7 separate regions of the Homo sapiens genome follow, and regions 1, 2, 3, 5, 6 and 7 are each linked to region 4. Evidence: promoter capture Hi-C in 16 types of primary human blood cells and fetal thymus (Javierre and others, 2016). All regions are on one chromosome and are shown on one strand. The core of a region is centred on a gene start or on the middle of the fragment in contact, and the rest is flanking DNA. Distances in the headings are between cores, read along the strand shown. Region 1 overlaps ANGPT1 (angiopoietin 1). Region 2 overlaps ANGPT1 (angiopoietin 1). Region 3 overlaps ANGPT1 (angiopoietin 1). Region 4 holds the start of ANGPT1 (angiopoietin 1). Region 5 has its middle 200 kb from the start of ANGPT1. Region 6 overlaps ANGPT1 (angiopoietin 1). Region 7 has its middle 220 kb from the start of ANGPT1.

Region 1 (2,700 bases), core at 67-2,566, 160 kb after region 4:
GCTCAGTTTTCTCATTTGTAAAGTGATGATAACAATTTCTCCTTTGATAGGTGGTCATGATATCCGGAAAGGCTAGCATTACCTAGTGTGATAGGCGTTCTATAAATGTGTGATAATGAGTCTTTCTAAACTATGTCAAGAGAATTTTGCACATTTCTAATTGTTTTTTGCCAGGTGATCCACCAAGGCAGGTATCTTTTACATGCCTATTAGTTATTCTTAATTATTCACAATATCTAAGACCTTGTACTTAATACTAACGTGCACTTACAGATATTGGAGATAAAATATATGAAGCAACTAGCACAGGAGAATATCCTAGGGTTTTAGGACACAGAAGTCCTAAAACACAATATGTTTGTTCAATTGCAATTTCAATCTCAAACCAAAATAATATCTGAAAGGCATGTAAAACATTAGTTGGTAGAATATAAGTAGAATGTAAACCTTTTTTTTTTTTTTTTTTTTTTTTGAGACAGAGTCTTACTCTGTCGCCCAGGCTGGAGTGCAGTGGCGCGATCCCGGCTCACTGCAAGCTCCGCCTCCCGGGTTCACGCCATTCTCCTGCGTCAGCCTCCCGAGTAGCTGGGACTACAGGCGCCCGCTACCACGCCCGGCTAAGTTTTTGTATTTTTAGTAGAGACGGGGTTTCACCATGTTTGCCAGGATGGTCTCGATCTCTTGACCTCGTGATCCACCCGCCTTGGCCTCCCAAAGTGCTGGGATTACAGGCGTGAGCCACTGCGCCCGGCGGTAAACCATTTGTTAAATTATTCTTGAAAAAATATTTAACGACAAAATAAAACTTAAAAAAGTTCTTTGATTCGTGACTGAAGTTTGAAATATTTTCATCTTTTATCTTAAGGTACTAAATCAAACTTCTCGACTTGAGATACAGCTGCTGGAGAATTCATTATCCACCTACAAGCTAGAGAAGCAACTTCTTCAACAGACAAATGAAATCTTGAAGATCCATGAAAAAAACAGGTGAGGATTGCTTTATTCCAAAAATGTTTCTGTGTGTACTTATTTATATCCTTCACCTCTCTGCCAACTCTTAAACAAATAAGGTTGAGGTGGTTTACAAAAATGAAATATAGAGCCAAATTAATATTAATATAAAAATAAAGGAGAGCTTAAGGTAAATTCAGCTAGTATGTCAGGAATAAATTAATATTGTTGCTGATACTCTTGAAATATTTGCTTTATATAACTTTTAGCATTAATTTCTCTAATGGTAGTAGTTCAAATCTCACCATATCTACAAAAATTTGATTCTATGACTAAATAAAGTGACATAAAATATTGACATTTTTCAGCAGAATGAAAACCTATAACAACAGAGAATAGAGCCTCTTAAATTCCTACTCAAACCCCAATTCTTAGGCTTTTACAAAGCTACAGCGTTTTTGAATTCAGAAATATAGCACTAGAGAGAAGGAAAATGTATATTTTTTCTAGAAAATAATTTACCTATAAAGCTGATCAAGGGTTTGGTTTTTTAGTTGTCATTTACAGCCATTTACTTTGGACATAGTAAATTTCTTTGGTTAGCTTTATAGATGTCATCACACCATCTTGTTTTATAAATTATGAATCATTTCAGTTGATTGAATTGGAACTTAGACATCTTGAATGCTGGGACAATGAAAGAGTGTATTATTTTGAAGTCATTAACATTGATGATGAACAATTCAAAACACTGACTTCCTTAGGACAAGTTTCTTGCATTACATTGATTTTTCTTCGGGGTATCTAGATAACTTGAAGAAGGTTCAGTTCCTATGCATAATATTGAGGTGAAGACCATGGTATTGATAGAAACTGGTTAAATGCCATTGAATTGGTGGCACTAGAGTTCCCTTTATATTCCACACCAGGAAGGCACCTAAGAGGACTGCTAGTTCTGTTCTTTACAAGTGAGGGAACAGAGACTCAGTGGAAGGCAGTGACCTGTCCAAGGTCACACAACTTGCTAGTGGCCGAAATTGGAATGTAATTTAGGTGTCAGGATCTTTCCACTATAACACATGGCCTCTTCATATTATCTACAAACTAAAAGAATTTCCCAACTTCATGCTAAAAGTAGAGCATAATGCAACAATTACAATTAAACTTCTGCATGAAAAATACAAACCTGGCTGTTGGTTTAGAATCTGAAAGGGGTCACTCATGCTGTATGACTTGTATTTCTAAGTGTTACATTTATTTATCCTTGTACTGTGACATGGGGTTAGCTGTATAACTACAAATAAACTTGACAGGACTTGACCCTTATTGCATGATTAAATGTTCTAGAACTAACAATCCTGTTGAAATATACCATTTATTCTCCTGCAATTTCACAGTAACCAGACCTATACATGTATGTAATAGGTATGCTTCAACCACCCCTTAATCTAGGGTCACCCCTTTATGGTTTAATTTTGTCACCAAAAGTGAACCACATTTACAGTCATATTTCAAGATGCTATTTGTGAAGGCTTTGCCCAGGAATCATGGATAAGTAAAACGATGACAATTTTCCCTTATTTTTCTGAGTCGTCGTTTGGTTTTATAATTATACAATAGCACGTTTATTATAGCATAAGGACAAAAAAAAACACACAGGAAAATTAAAAACCACAGCTTTATCATACAGAAAGAGCTGCATATTTTGCTGCATTTTATATATAAATATCATTTTCACAAAAAGTTCTG
Region 2 (2,700 bases), core at 177-2,676, 180 kb after region 4:
TGAAATGAATCTTGATTTAACTACAGGATTTGCCATCTTAATTTAAGGTGATTGCCTAATTTTCCAATAGGTTCTCTGCTGTCATGACCATAGATTTTATTTGCTTCTTGTTAATCTCTTTTTTCTTTAATCTTACTGTTAAGCGTTCTAACTAAATATTTAGTTACTTTTAGAACTCATAAGAGACACAAAAGTGGAAAGTGGCTCTCATAAGGTTTTTATGAAGATTTTCATTGTCTGCATATCTTTATTTTCACTGGAGCCTTAGTCGTTGGCTATGGTGAATTTAAAATTTTAAATGGCTAATAGCATAATACTAGATTGAATATCAGTTATTAAAATGAACTTTTATTCAAATTCTAAAACACATGGGTAAAGCCTTTCTTTGTTTTATGACCAAAATTTATATATCATATAAATTTATTATTTATTGAAGGATTATATGTAAATATTTTACTTATAAATTTATATATATGCAAATATTTCAAAATAAGCATACCAGAATAAACGCATCAAATATTCTAAAATGTACATTTTAAAGCTCAAATATAGGTATTCTACAAGATCTTAAAAAACACGAGCTGTGTCGTCATCCAAAAAGCCAAACATTTTAATTGACCCTAAAAGGTCTTCTGGTTTCAATCTGACCCACTAATCTGTGGAGACAGCCTGAATATAATACTGCAAGGCCAGACTAAAAAAATGTTAATGAGCTTCCCCTGTCATTGGCAACCAGTTTAACCTTAAGGAAGCTGTCTCATCATGTATAAAGTCAGGAGAATTCTGTCTATTTCACCACAATAGGGAAAGAATTACATTAGATGCTCAATATACAAGCGAAGATCCCATTGCTGAAGACACAGTTGATTCATTAAACTTTAGTTTCTTCTTTCTCCTTCGATGGACAAGATTCAGTTAAGTACATTCATTATGTGCTTTATAAGCAAAACTTCCTCTGCAGAAAATGTTTAAATACAATGCCCCGGAGTGTTTGAGTGTTGACAGTCATCCAGGCAGCTTTTTTGGCCTCCATTTTCTGATCTCTAAAATGGGATCATAATATCTACCCGGTAGGTATGTAGTACACCATAAATATATACAACTTTTGTCAATTATGTAGTTCAAAATTGCCAAAAAAGTGGATTGTAAATGTTCTGACCACAAAGAAATGACGAGTATGTGAGGTAATGGATATGTTAATTAGCTTGATCATTCTGCAGTGTATACATGTACCAAAACATCACGTTTTACTCCAAAAATATATACAGTTATTATTTGTCATTAAAAAATTCAAATTTAAAAAAGAAATAGAGGGCCTAGAATAAATACATACATAAACAAGTAAATGAATTAATTTCTTAAATGTTGAAATATTAAAAGAGGTTAGTATAAAACGCATAGCTTCTGTGTTAAGTCATAGTCAACATTAAAATAATCGTAATTATCTTTATTTTAGTGCCTTCTAAAATGCCTATAATGCATTAAAGTTATATGATAAAGAATTCCTAGGAAGTGTTGGCTAGACATGTACTTTTTTTCCCAAACATTTGTTTGATCCAGAAACTGTAAATCTATCTTTGCATTCAGAGAGTGCTTTTGTTTAGTTTCACAGCACTTTTTCTACTAACACATCTGATGTTGTGAGATACTTTTAAGAAGGACAACTAATAAACACATTATCTGAAATAATTCACCAAACTTTCCTCTTCTTATTCCTAATAGACAATAATGGTGTCTTAGGCAAATAGTCAATTCAAACTGAATTGCATCCACTTTGTAAGGCTTCTGAGTAACACATTTATTTTTGCCTAACCTTCATCTGCAAACATTGGGCCACATTTATTCTTAGAAACATTATCCACTAAAGAAATATTGCCCTCAGTGTTATCACAATGTCAAAGCTCAGCCTATTGCTTCATGTTTTTGGCAATTCAAAATTACCAAAATTAAATATTTGCTGGAATTAAGTAATTTACATTAATAAGGCATACAAACAAGGTTTGGAATCTTTCAGGGGAGAGTAATCAGTTACTGTGACTATTAAAAAACCACTAGTTGGCCAGGCGCGGTGGCTCATGCCTGTAATCCCAGAACTTTGGGAGGCCAAAGTGGGTGGATCACTTGAGGTCAGAAGTTCAAGACCAGCTTGGCCAATATGGTGAAACCCCATCTCTACTAAAAATACAGAAATTAGCTGGGCATGGTGGCACATGCCTGTAATCCCAGCTACTCAGGAGGCTGAGGCAGGAGAATTGCTTGAACCCAGGAGGCGAAGGTTGCAGTGAGCTGAGATCACGCCACTGCACTCCAGCCTGGGCAACAGAGTAAGACTCTGTCTCAAAAAAAAAAAAAATAAAAATAAAAATAAATTCACTGGTTATCTATGTACACTGGTGATTAAAATGTCATCTCATGTTGAGCATACACGTGGCAAATATATAATTGGGAATTTAATTACTAACAGCATGTAAAAAAAGGAAGGAAGGAAAAAAGAAAAGAAAAAGTTTTTAAAAAAAGTATTTAGACTGTATTATAAACTTACATAGTCTGATTGTCTCACACTGCTCAAATCAGCTCGAAGCTCATTTCTGCTGTAGCAGGATGTGGTTCATAAATTTATCCATTCATTCAAAACAGTTCTGCAGCAACTGTTCTGTTCTGGGGAAATGATATTTATTCATTTTTATTTAACAAATATTT
Region 3 (2,700 bases), core at 84-2,583, 240 kb after region 4:
AATAGTCTAAGTAAATGTGTTTTTGTAATAAACGCCATTACCTTATCAAATGTCCCTTTGAAAGAATCCAGGTCTTGCAAAGCTATTTATTATGGAAAGCTAAAATGTGGAATTTAGATAGCTAAGAACTGGAGAACATAAGGATGAATGTCATTGACAGTCCAGGTAACTGGAGTATTGCCTGGAACTTAGGTCCTACTTAGTTACTCCCCACCACTACTACTTATTCTCTGTCAAAATTTCCCTTAGAGCCATTTTCCTCATCTAATGATTTTTCCTTTCCTTTTTTTTCTTTTTAAACTTAGTATTTGAGCCTGTTGCCTATTTAAAATACCCTCTCTTAAGCAGTGAGACTTCATACTCTTTGGAGCTAGTAACTCATAGCTCTTTGTCATCATCAATTAAAGCTTTGTTTTATCTTGTTTATTTATATATTTTTCCTTTGTTTCTTCTAAAAGGGATTAAGAGTAAAATAAGATTTATTGCCCACTAACTATCCTAGTTTTCTTCAAGTACATAGAGGAATTCTAGCTGGAGAATCTGGTATCATTACCCTTATCGGTAAAAGACTGAATGGCAGGAAATAGGCTTAACTGAAAGCAGAAGGTATTTCAGCTAGACCCAAGGTAGGACTTGATCTTTGTTCTTCATTTCCTAACTTCCTTATTTCTTGGCTTTCTTCTATCAGTTTAAGGGGGTTAATTACTATTAAACAAATGAGCAAGACAGGCTAGAGCATAAGTTTCATTAAAAATTTAAAAGAAATAGTTTTATCTACTATTTAACATTAAGAAAATGAAAATGAAATCTCATTCAATGCATACTTTTTGTATAGATTTATTGTATATGGAGATAAATATGTGAAAAATTCTGATTCCAAAATTAAGACAGTGACAAATTTTTGTTACTAGATTGTCACATTCAAAACAAACTTACCTTCAGCTAAAAAAAAATCTTTGATACTAAATTAGGAGTTTTCAAAGTCTGCATTTCTGAAAGTTTGCTTAAGCTACAGTTAACTAAAATTATTAATGTTATAATTAAAGAATTATTTCTAAAAATCTTTCATAAACTGTAATTATTAAAGGTTGCCAACAACAAAAACAAATATGTTACCGTTTTACATTCCTTACTTTAGTTTCAGTATAATTTCCATATTTAGTACATAATATAAAGGCTATGTAAAAATGTGACCTAACTTTCTGTAGAAAGAATCTATTGAAGTAGAAACTCTCATTTCTTTTCCCAATGCATAAACCATGTCAACTGGTAGACAAGACTTTCTAAAGCTAACGAAGGATATTTTTCAGTTCAGTCCTTAAATAGGGGATAAAGCCATACACGTAAATTTCTTAGTACATCTAGAACTTTCCAGATGCTAACAGCAGACAGTTGACAAACGCTCACTTTGCCTACTATATAATCTTAAAGAAGACAAAGAAAATGATAGAAGCTAGCAGTTTTTTCAACTGGTGTATGACCTTGAAGTGACAAGATCTTTGGGAAAATATAATTGTCTTAGCATTTTTGGGAACCCAAGAAAGACCTGCTAAGCATGATCAGATAACTAAAATTCTCTGTTTCAAGGTAAAAATATTGAGAGAAAAGAAGATCCATATGACTAATGTAAGATTGACTATAGAAATCTACATTGCACTACTTTTATTTCAACCCAATTTCTATATTTAGTACATAAAACGTAAGCCTATTCTACACAAATGTAAGTTCTGTGAATGCAGGGATTTTATGCTGTCCACTACTGTATCCCCAGTGGCTGCCATAGTGTGTGGCAGATAGCATATGTTCAATAAATATTGGTTTAGTGAGTAAATGTTAGCAGAGACTCTGAAAGGACATTGCAAAATTACAAATTATTCTGGTGAAAATACATAAATGAATGTTAGTATAAACGTGATTCTTGCATGAACTTATATTTAAAATGCCTAATACATACATGTATTTATATGCACCAGCATGGAACAAAGAGATGACTATCAAAGACTGAAACTAACTTAAGAATAACCAAACCCCAAAAGACTGAACTGCAGAATTATAAAAATTTGAGTGTTAGGTTCCTGACTGTCAAATAAATTTGAGCTTCCTAAAATGCAAAGTTTAAGATTACATTCCTATTTTCTCGGGCAAAGTTTCATTTCTTAGAAAAAGAGCAAAGAGTATCAGAAAATGTCTTTTATAAGTTTGGAAAAAGGTGAATCAGAACCGATAGTCCTCTCGTGCAAGGCTACAACCAAAGCTTAATAATTGACAGTGGATGAGAAATAACCAATTAATTTTGTATTGTACTCAGTAATAATATTTAAAAACTTATTGAGCTCTTTCTAATGGATACGTTTATATTATTCTAAATGATTTATATTTAATAACATATATGAAGCTTCCAAAAACTCTTGGAAATACAGACTACAATAATACTTTTGGCAAGAACTGAGATACAGAAAAGTTAGATAATTTGCCATAGGTCACAGAATTTTGTCAGAAGTAGAATTTAAATGCAGGTACTCAACCTCCAGAGGCCTTTGTTCTATCTACTCTTTCTACTGCCTCCATTAAAAGGGATGACATTCAAAGAGAATGACAGAGCTCTATTGTACCGTTTGCAGCATCTTTTTGCAAGCATTTCCTCATTTAAACATGGTTAAAAGCAAAATGAAGTATGAGGGAGAAGAGAGGAGGTAAAAG
Region 4 (2,700 bases), core at 52-2,551:
CTCTCCTCTAACTTCTCCCTAAATGCCCATCTCTAACCACTACGGACCTTCACCCACTGCCCTGTTCTCCTTCCAAGACATGGGAGATGACAGCTGTGGCTTCTGTTTTCACACCATGACTGCAGTTGTCTAAAAGCCCTCCCAGTTCCTAATGAAAATCCCAACTCATAATTCAGGTTTTCTGCATCTAGTAAAGATCTCAAAGCCGTTCCCTAAATTCTACAATTATTGCCTGTTTATGTTTATGGGTCCCTTTGTTCAAATGTTTATACGCTGCCTGTGGGAAATCATCTTCTGATAATTTTTCTTTCTTCCTTCACAGAAGCACAGAGATGTCTCCTGTACAGCCCATTGCTGGCTGTTAGCACACCTGATATATGCTTGTTCTCACATAGTATGTCTGTGCAGCCACAGGAGGTTTTTATGTGGAACTTCCACACCAGTGTTAAAGACAGCCATAGCCACCAAAGAGATCCTTGTAAAATACAGGATTAGGATATACCACAGGAATTAATAATTCTCAAGCCACTGCTTTAAATTGTAGCCACATTGTTTTTGTAGGGAAGTTGCTCAATTTATATACACAGAACATGAAGGGTTGCATTCTGATCAGGACACCAGTTTCATTTAAGAACCCTATACCAAAAGGTACTTAGATAACCCTCTTTAATATGCACATACTATATTGCTTTGTGCAACATATTGCTTTGAGCAACAAATGATGCTAATTTTCTTGCTAATTTGATCCTCTCTGATTATTTTCTTCAACTCCTAAAAGTCTAAGTGAATACAATGAAAGAATACCATCTGTAAAAACTGTTTTTTAACATATTTTTCCTCAGAGTCAAGAATACATGTTTTTTAAAGACATTTAATAATGATATGGGTTTATCATTCTCTATCAAAAATAATTCCATTGGACATTATGCCAATTTTCTTCTTAGGGTCCCTCGACTAAATAGTAACTTTAAAAACATACTGCTAGTTTGCTATATTTTAGTAGGTCAGCATGCACACCAAAAGTGTATTAAGGTGGACTGCTCTATTTATTGATTTGCCATGAATCTGCTAAAGGCTCAAGGCAATTGTCTGTGGAAAGGGGCGGGAGGGCCATACATGATCGAGGTCATGCGCATCTAGCCAATTTGTAAGACGATCCCGCCGCCCTAAGCCATCAGCAATCCTTAGTATAGGGGCACACTCATGCATTCCTGTCAAGTCATCTTGTGAAAGGCTGCCTGCTTCCAGCTTGGCTTGGATGTGCAACCTTAATAAAACTCACTGAGGTCTGGGAGAAAATAGCAGATCTGCAGCAGATAGGGTAGAGGAAAGGGTCTAGAATATGTACACGCAGCTGACTCAGGCAGGCTCCATGCTGAACGGTCACACAGAGAGGAAACAATAAATCTCAGCTACTATGCAATAAATATCTCAAGTTTTAACGAAGAAAAACATCATTGCAGTGAAATAAAAAATTTTAAAATTTTAGAACAAAGCTAACAAATGGCTAGTTTTCTATGATTCTTCTTCAAACGCTTTCTTTGAGGGGGAAAGAGTCAAACAAACAAGCAGTTTTACCTGAAATAAAGAACTAGTTTTAGAGGTCAGAAGAAAGGAGCAAGTTTTGCGAGAGGCACGGAAGGAGTGTGCTGGCAGTACAATGACAGTTTTCCTTTCCTTTGCTTTCCTCGCTGCCATTCTGACTCACATAGGGTGCAGCAATCAGCGCCGAAGTCCAGAAAACAGTGGGAGAAGATATAACCGGATTCAACATGGGCAATGTGCCTACACTTTCATTCTTCCAGAACACGATGGCAACTGTCGTGAGAGTACGACAGACCAGTACAACACAAACGCTCTGCAGAGAGATGCTCCACACGTGGAACCGGATTTCTCTTCCCAGAAACTTCAACATCTGGAACATGTGATGGAAAATTATACTCAGTGGCTGCAAAAAGTAAGTGATTGCTTTCAGTTTCTAATAGCACGGACCTTTTTCCTTTCTTGCACTGCAGCTAACTTAAAGTTCCTTAGGGGAGCATTTGTGTATTTACCTTTTGCTCCAGGGGGGCAGTGTTTGCAATTGCAAGACGGCTGTCTGGGTTTGGCTTCCTGGGTAAGCCAAGGTTTGGGGGCTTGCCCAAACCTATGAATGTGTGGGGGCACCCCGTTTGTGTGTCTAGCCCTGGCAAATTTTATGACATTTTTGGTTTCTCTTTTCTAAAGTTCAGCATTAAGGTTCTCTCTGTCAAAACACTACCTTAAGAAAGAAAGTATGTACCTCTTAAGCAAGTTGGTGAAAAATAAATAATAATGACAATATTAATTAATAAGATCAAATCGATTTTGCACCAGAAAATTTTGTGCCGCTGGGGTGGCAAATCATCACAAAGTATTTGTTTTTTTAACCTTTATAAAAATTAACATGAAGTGAGAGTAAATATAAAATATGATATTTGGTTGGAGAAATTGTATATTTATGTAAAGGGAACTGTTAGTTTCAGCAAGTGGTAGAATAGTAGACTGATTTCTGTTAAATATTTTTTTCTTCTGTCCTTGAGAAAAAAAATTAAAAAGATACATTGTAATGTTAACTGTCGGAAAGGGGTTGCTCGCTCACGATGAGGGCATGCTGGCTGTTGAGGAAGACATGCACCTGCAGATATGGGCTGAACGCAGCATGTAGTCTACTATATTCCT
Region 5 (2,700 bases), core at 113-2,612, 200 kb before region 4:
GAATTGCAGAGTGTAAACAGTTTTGGGAAGGGGAATGGTTAAATCATTAGATATAAATGCCAAGGAATATTCAACTGTCAAAAGTCATTTTTAAAGTAAAATATTTAGTGAGATGGGCAATATTTATGATATAAACTTAAGTGAAAGGTGAATAGAGAATGTACATAATACAATCCCAACTTCTAAAAACTGAAGAGAAAGATTAAAATTTTAACAATTATGATTTTGAGGTTATAGGAAGAAGAGTGTTTTTCTTTTCTCATTTATACTGTACCTCACTCGCAATAGCATGTAGTGGTTAAGCATATAGGCTTAGAGTTATGTCTTAGTTCTACCACTCACTTGGATGAGTTAAATAACCTCTCCTGAGTGTCTTTTCTTGCATGTAAAATGGAAAAAATAATATTTACCTTATAAGATTCTTGTGATGCCTCAACGAGATACACATAGTAATTCTTAGTACTGTGCCTTCCAAATGGTATGTGCACAATAAATGGTAGCTATTAGTATTATGCATTTTATTAAAACATCTGCAAAATAAAGATGCACTACTTTAAAGGATACCCAAATACAAAGGATAGTTTTAAATATATGTGCTATCTACACAATAAAATTACCTACTTTAATTCAAGAAAATTACATATATTTTTAAATTATTCTAGGCCAATTTTATAAAACTACTATATCAATGTTTATACTATTTTAGAAGCATATATGTTTGTGTATATGTGTGTTTCTTATCACTAGATATTACAGAAAGTTAAATTACTGTCTAGAAATTTCAATTTTTCATTATGATATTGAAAAGTCATTTCTATAAAATTAAAAGAGTAGTATTCACACCTGTAGGTATAAAGATCTTCTCAGATTTCCCAAACTTTAGAAACTATTCATTTAGATGTTAAAAACAAATTACCTGTGTCCTGCATAAATTACAAATAATTCATGAACCCCACAATGAAATATTTATGGTCTCATTGAATACTTCCCAGGATAATAAAATAAAGACTATGTTCTGTTTATGTGCCTGAATGGCCAGAATTTTATTTTCTGTTTTAGTTGATAATTCATAAAAAGAAATTTAGGGGACTGAACTGTAGCTTTCAAACTCGAAAACTAGAACATTTAGAAAGTTTATTATTTTTATAGAAGACTTAGTTATTGGCCATCCAGAGTAGATTGGCCCATGTGTGGCTAAGGAATAAGATATAAAATTTAAGATCTCCTCTTTTTTTTTTTTTTTTTAACTCTTTTGCTTTGTTGACAATAGAACACAGCCTCACAGAATTAATACGAGAAGTGACCTTTCACCCATCATCCATCTGTTGATCCATTTATTCATTCTTTCTCTATGTATTAGTAGAGTACCCATAATGTGACATGCGCTTTACTAATGTGACACGCCTCTTTAAAATACAAAGGTGAACCAGAAAGGCAAAGTCTCTGACCTTGGAGAATTTACAGTCTACCAGAAGAACCATGCAATAAACAGACAAAATAAACAGTAAATGCTATAAAAGAAATTAGCAGGATGATGTCAAAAAGAGTAATTATTTGTTGGGTGGTGGCGAAGATGAGAAATACTTCAGGTAGGTTTGTCTGGGAAGTTTCCCTGAATTGTGCCTTGAGAGAGGAGACAGAGCCAGGCAGGAAGAGATGGGGGAAGAAACTTCCAAACCCAGAAAACCACAGGGCTTGGAGAACAACTGTGACATAATTTTAAGTGAAACAGCAATGCTAAATTGAATTTATTAATGCAGTAGGACACGGACAAAAGAAATGAATTGGATTGATATGTGTCAACATGGATAAAGCTCAAAGACATAGTGAAGAGAAAAAGCAAGCTGTATCATGTTCCTCATGGTATCATTTATGGAACTTTTAAAAACACAAAGCAATGGTACATATTTGTTATATGCATATACATATATAATAAAGTATAAAACCATATATGATAATGATATATAACAGTTTTAGGGCTTTGCTTACTTCTGGAGAGAAAGGGAAGGAATGGAATGTGGAACTTTATAATGTTTGTTTTTTTAAAGAAATATGAAGCAAAATCCTAAAGTCAAGGGATGATTACCTAAGTGTCTCACTTTTTACAATTTTCTGTGTATTAGAAAAGTTGAAAGACTAGAAACTTCAATAAAACAGAATACAAATTGTATAAGGCTAATACTAAAACTAAATTCAAAAGCAGAGAGTATGATCTGATATTTAAAAACTGGAAATAAATTCTATGTGGTGGAATTATGAGTAATTTTTGTTTCTATTCTTTGTTCCAAATAGCAATATACTACATGGATCAAGAATGTAGGAAAAGTAGTCAACCAAGAGAAAAGCAAGTGGCTATGTTGTGGAGGAAGAATGGATAAGATGTAGCCATTCTGACTTTTTGGTTATCAGTACAATACCTTCTAGTATGTTCCACAACCTATTTTTTTAAATGTTTGCTTATTGTTGTTTTTAAAACAACTTTACTGATACAATTGATATAAAATAAATTTACAGTATATAACTTGCTGTTTTGAAGTATGTCTATTCCCATGTAATAGTCACCACAATCACCTCATGAACATATACATCAGCCTCAAAAGTTTTCTTATGTTCATTGGTGCCTATTCTCTCCTATATCCTCACCCCTCTACCTACACCACTGATCACTTTGTAGGCTTTAATATAAATGGAATCAGAGCA
Region 6 (2,700 bases), core at 7-2,506, 200 kb after region 4:
GACAGCTGAAGAGAGTGAGATTAGGCAAGAACCTTGCTCTTCAGTGTCTGTGAGTTTTAACTGGAAGCCCAGGGTCCCAAGAGGACCGCATGCCCTTACAGGATAAAACAACTGTCCTCCCCTCATGCCCCCACCTAAATTACTTGTCTCTTATCCCCATTTCCTCTGGGGCCTGTGCAATGCTCTTGGAATCTTCTCTGATTCCCTCAGGCAACTTTACATGACTTTCTCACTACCAGAGTTCTAAAAGGCAGAGATTGTGCCTTTTATCTTTGATTTCCTGGAACCTAGCATAGTTTCTGGCACATAGTAGGTCTCAATAGATATGTGCTGGAATAAATGAGTAAGTGACCTGCTGATGGCAATATCAACACTTCCATGCAGTGCATAGTAAATCAGTCTAACTTACTTAGTCTTCCTGATTGTTAGTCTCCTTTGATAGGCAAAGGAAATGAATCCTGGAGCCCAGTTTGCCAGATGCCACTTAATTGGCAACCCAGGAAGTCTGGACTATAGTCCAGGTCTGATACAATTCTATTTTCCCTTTTACCACTGTCCTCTGTCTCTCTTGATTTCCGTAATGAATAGTTGTTTATGTTAGCTCTAAATGGTTTCTTTTTCCCCTTTGCTGGGACAAAATTTTCTTCTTGAAAGATACCTTTGATGTTGTCTATAAGGGGGTAAAATGTAGGAGTGGAGTGGGCACAGGAGGGAGGACAGGCAGGAGGCACTCTTCTGTACTTTGCTACCTCAGCCATCTACCAGAGAAGTGTGGTTTTGCTGTTTTTCATGTTTGATTTCTGTGCAAGATTACATTGAATCCCATGGCTTAAAGAAGCAAACAAATGAAAAATTGAAATACAATGGCAAGTCTGGGAATGAGGAGATGAAGATAACTTATTCTAAGGAAGATATCCTAAAATCACACTTAAGCTTAAATTCAATTCACACACACACACACATCATAAACACACACCATACACACAGCAGATGAAGTATGTGAGAATTTGATCTGGAGTAGGAGGTGGAGTTAAAACATTTGCTTTATCATTTACCTACAGTACTACTCAAGACCTGAAAGAACCTCTAAATTATTGTCAGTTCCACTAGAGCTTATAATCTGACTATAAAAATAAAATTAACTAAAAATACTAAGCGAACTTCCATTTAGACTCATAGTGATTCTGTGATATAAATGAATCGAAAAATAATTCCCAAAGTTTTCAGATCAAGAATATTCACAATTTTAGAATTTTTTTGACTTCATCATCAGTACTACCATGTGGTCTGTGGGAAGGGGTGCAGTACAAATACAGCTTTAGTCATTCTATGGACTTTAGTTCATATATAACCACAACTACACTCTAGTTTGAAACATTATGAGATGCAAATGGTGCACAGGCTATTTGCAGAACCACTGCGCCTGGTAATGTGAAGAAAAAGATCCCACCTCAATTCATAATCCTGAATAGGTTTGCTTTTCATGCTTACATAAAATAGAATGTTGGAGAATCCAATTTACTCCTTCCATGGCTGGCTCCTGGGTTGGTTTCATCAGGAAAGCAAGATTCAAGCTTACGCTTCTACAAAATGGTGGATTTTAAATATGATGGAGTTTTTGGGTTTTCTTAAATAAATAAAACTTAGAATATTATATTCACAAATGTCAAGTACCTACTGAATTAACTTCTGATATTTAGGCTAAGAAAAAATAATAATCTGAACAGGTTAGCAGTAACATACCCATACGTACCCATAAGGAGCAAATTTTATCACTGCTGAATGGCCACCATGGCTTTTCAGAGAGAAGAAGGAGAAGTTCCAATATTACCTGGTCAGGACTATTGTTAGATTTAGATTTAGTTTTATTGAAATACTAGCAGAGTGTGGTGAGAAGGGGAGATAACTGAGCTGAAGAGAGAAAGACCTGGCCTTCTTCTGGACTTAGATGTTCATTCTCTTGTTTTATTATTTCCCTATTATAATCATAGATTCTCTTACAAGTAGTAACATTGTTCTATAATAAAGATGGGTATTTCAGACTGACATACATACACATTTTTGCAGGTAAAAAATTTAGTGTTTAATCCCTTAGTATAATTGCATAGCATAGCACTGGTAAGAACAAATATTGTGTGAATTTCCTCAAAAGTAATTTACAAGCTGATTAACAAAATAGCTCAAATGTATTGAGCATTTACAGTTTGCCAGTCTTCTTCTAAGCATATATATCTCTATATATAGATAGATATAGATCTCTATATATAGATGTATACTATACTATACTATATATATACTATATATAGATATATAGAGATATATATAGATCTCTATAGATATAGATACCTATATCTAGATATAACTATATATATAGTTATATCTAGATATAACTACATATCTAGATATCTAGATATATAGTTATATCTAGATATCTAGATATAACTAGTATATAGTATATATACAGTATATCTAGATATAACTACATATCTAGATATATAGTATATCTAGATATAACTACATATCTAGATATATAGTATATCTAGATATAACTACATATCTAAATATATAGTATATCTAGATATAACTACATATCTAGATATATAGTATATCTAGATATAACTACATATCTAGATATATAGTATATCTAGATATAACTACATATCTAGATATATAGTATATCTAGATATAACTATATATATA
Region 7 (2,700 bases), core at 112-2,611, 220 kb before region 4:
AACTCCTGACCTCAGGTGATCCACCCACCTTGGCCTCCCAAAGTGCTGGGATTACAGGCATGAGCCACCGCGCCTAGTCAGTATTAACTCTTATATTTAGATTTCTAATCCACTTTGAGTTACTCTTTGTAAATGGAAAGAGGTTATTGGTGTCACATACTACACTGGTTTTACTGCTGTAGCTTTATAAGTCTTCATTTCAGTTAGTATAAATTCAACTTTTCCTTTTTAAAGTTATTTTAGCTTTCAAGGTCCTCTGCATTTCCATATAAATTTTAAAATTAAATTGTCATTTTTTACAAACAAGCTTGCTTAGCTTTTGATTAGGATTTCAGTGAAGCACAATCTAGGAAGAATTCACATGTTGACAATATTGAGTCTTCAAATAAAAATGGTATATTATTTTCACTTGTCTTTTTAAATTTCTCTCAGAAATATTTTTTGCTTTTTAGTGTACAGTTTTTGCACATCTTTCACCAAATTTATGTCTAAATAGTATATTTTTGATGCTATTATAAATGATGTTTTTAAAAAATTCAGTTTCAGATTCATTATTGCTTATATATAGACTCAGCTGAAATTTTTATAATGACTTTATATCCTACAACCTTGCTAAACTCATTATTAGTTCCAAAGACTTTCTTCTTCATAGAGTACTTAGAATTTTATACATTAGACTTTCCTTTTTTTCTTTTCTTTTTTTTTCTTTTTTTGAGATGGAGTCTTGCTTTGTCGCCCAGGCTGGAGTACAGTGGCATGATCTCCGCTCACTGCAAGCTCCGCCTCCTGGGTTCACGTCATTCTCCTGCCTCAGCCTCCTGAGTAGCTGGGACTACAGGCGCCTGCCACCACACCCGGCTAATTTTTTTTTTGTATTTTTAGTAGAGATAGATTTTCTTTACTATTCTAGCTTGCTGAGAGTTTTAATCATGAATGAATGTTGGCTATTATAAAATATTTTTTCTGCATGTATTAAGAATGATTTTATGGCTTTTCATTTTTTAGTAGTTTAATACTGTAAATTCTATTGATTGACTTTTGAAGATATTAATATAAATATTTTAATGTATTAATATTAATATAATTTGCATCGTGGGACAAATCTCACTTGGTCATGATATATTACTCTTCCATATATTGTTGGATTTAAATATTAGAAATACTGTTAAGGAGTTTTGTGTCTATATTTATGAGCAATATTCGTCTGTAGATTTTCTTGCTGTTCTAATATCTTTTTCTCATTTTGGTATCAGGGTAAAGCTGGCTTTTGCACTATTGTTATATATTTTACTTCTCTCTGTAGATAATAAATCCCAAAATTCATTGCAATATTTTTGCTTTAAACAGTCAAGTATCTTTTAATAAAATTTGAAAGACAATTATTTTATAACTATTATTTCTGGTGTCTTTAATTGCTTTGTAAAGATCCAGACTTTGACCTGATATCATTTTCTTTCATCATAAACCACTTCAATTAACCTTTTTTGTATTAAATGTCTGCTGGTAATGAGTCCCTTCAGCTTTAGAATATCTGGAAAATATTTTTTTTCTACTTTTTTTTTTTTTTTTGAGATGGAGTTTCACTCTTGTTGCCCAGGCTGGACTGCAATGGCGTGATCTTGACAAACTACAAACTCTGCCTCCTGAGATCAAGTGATTCTCCTGCCTCAGCCTCCCGAGTAGCTGGGATTACAGGTGCCCTCTACCATGCCTGGCTATTTTTTTTTCTATATCTTTAAAAGAGATATTTGACTGGCGATAAAATTTTAGTTTGGCAATATTTTTATTTTCTGTAGAGATGTCCCACTGTCTTTGGGCTTATATTGTATCTGAAGAGATGTCTCTTATTATTCTTCTTTGCTCTTCTGTTTGAAATGTGTTATTTTACTCTGGAGGCTTTTAAGAAGATATTCTCTTTATCACTAGTTTATAATGTGACTTTTTTTTCTGTGTTTTAATTTAGATAATTTTTAATACTATGTCTTCAATTAATCTGTTGTTATACAGTGTCTAATTTACAGTTAATTTCAAGTACATTTTTAAATCTCAAACATTGTATTCTCTAACTCTAAAATTTTATTTTTGATCTCTCTTATATCTACTATGCCCTTAAAATAATCATATTTTGTTCTATCTTCTGAAACATGAGGAAAAGAGTTATAAAACTGCATTGATACCTTTGTATATTAATCATCTGCCAATTCTAGGTTGGTCTTACCTGATTACATTTTTTTCTCTATTCATTAACTTTAGATTTTGCCTCCCTGTGTGCCTGATAATTACCTATTGGATGCCAGGCATTGTAAATTTTACTTTGCTGATTGCTCACATTCTTTAATGTGTTAGTGAACTTTGCTCATGAATGTAGGTATGTTGGAAATGTTTGACTCTTTTGAGTCCTGCTTTCAAGCTTTATTATACAGCAGTAGAACAACTAGTTTAGAGCTAATTTTTCCTGCCACCGAGATGATAATCTTCATAGTATTCTGCCTGATATCCCACGTGCTGCAAGATTTTTCTACTTTAGCTAGTGGAGACATGAACTATTCCCATCCTTCTTTGAGCTCCAGGGATTATTCTGCCTCTTCCATTTGGTACTTTCCCTTCCCTCATGGTCTCTGACAGTTTTCTCCAAGTAAACACTTACCTGTGCTCAGCAGAATATTCAGAGTACCAAGAGCTTTCTTTCTTCTTTTTTTT

The links. The method cuts DNA at HindIII sites, captures the fragments that hold promoters and counts their contacts. A CHiCAGO score of 5 or more calls a contact.
Region 1: a contact is called between a fragment that was not itself captured here and the fragment with the promoter of ANGPT1 in region 4, in 1 of 17 cell types (megakaryocytes). The highest score is 12.5, in megakaryocytes.
Region 2: a contact is called between a fragment that was not itself captured here and the fragment with the promoter of ANGPT1 in region 4, in 1 of 17 cell types (megakaryocytes). The highest score is 15.2, in megakaryocytes.
Region 3: a contact is called between a fragment that was not itself captured here and the fragment with the promoter of ANGPT1 in region 4, in 1 of 17 cell types (megakaryocytes). The highest score is 9.6, in megakaryocytes.
Region 5: a fragment that was not itself captured here is called in contact with the fragment with the promoter of ANGPT1 in region 4 in 1 of 17 cell types (neutrophils); the score reaches 7.8 in neutrophils.
Region 6: a fragment that was not itself captured here is called in contact with the fragment with the promoter of ANGPT1 in region 4 in 1 of 17 cell types (megakaryocytes); the score reaches 18.8 in megakaryocytes.
Region 7: a fragment that was not itself captured here is called in contact with the fragment with the promoter of ANGPT1 in region 4 in 1 of 17 cell types (neutrophils); the score reaches 5.1 in neutrophils.

Annotation. Positions count from the first base shown.
Region 1 is chr8:107,334,437-107,337,136 of GRCh38, reverse strand. It overlaps ANGPT1 (angiopoietin 1), which reads left to right. Exons shown (of 9, transcript NM_001146.5): 3 at 866-987. Among named protein-coding and RNA genes, the nearest start is that of ANGPT1, 160 kb to the left of the region's middle. The HindIII fragment of the contact is 6,095 bases long and covers 1-2,700 here.
Region 2 is chr8:107,317,288-107,319,987 of GRCh38, reverse strand. All of the region lies in intron 4 of ANGPT1 (angiopoietin 1), which reads left to right. Among named protein-coding and RNA genes, the nearest start is that of ANGPT1, 180 kb to the left of the region's middle. The HindIII fragment of the contact is 3,419 bases long and covers 1-2,700 here.
Region 3 is chr8:107,258,071-107,260,770 of GRCh38, reverse strand. All of the region lies in intron 8 of ANGPT1 (angiopoietin 1), which reads left to right. Among named protein-coding and RNA genes, the nearest start is that of ANGPT1, 240 kb to the left of the region's middle. The HindIII fragment of the contact is 1,847 bases long and covers 410-2,256 here.
Region 4 is chr8:107,496,519-107,499,218 of GRCh38, reverse strand. ANGPT1 (angiopoietin 1) reads left to right here and starts at 1,301. Exons shown (of 9, transcript NM_001146.5): 1 at 1,301-1,957. The coding sequence starts at 1,661. The HindIII fragment of the contact is 4,855 bases long and covers 1-2,700 here.
Region 5 is chr8:107,699,047-107,701,746 of GRCh38, reverse strand. No RefSeq gene overlaps it. Among named protein-coding and RNA genes, the nearest start is that of ANGPT1, 200 kb to the right of the region's middle. The HindIII fragment of the contact is 7,386 bases long and covers 1-2,700 here.
Region 6 is chr8:107,299,715-107,302,414 of GRCh38, reverse strand. All of the region lies in intron 5 of ANGPT1 (angiopoietin 1), which reads left to right. Among named protein-coding and RNA genes, the nearest start is that of ANGPT1, 200 kb to the left of the region's middle. The HindIII fragment of the contact is 641 bases long and covers 936-1,576 here.
Region 7 is chr8:107,718,666-107,721,365 of GRCh38, reverse strand. No RefSeq gene overlaps it. Among named protein-coding and RNA genes, the nearest start is that of ANGPT1, 220 kb to the right of the region's middle. The HindIII fragment of the contact is 2,103 bases long and covers 310-2,412 here.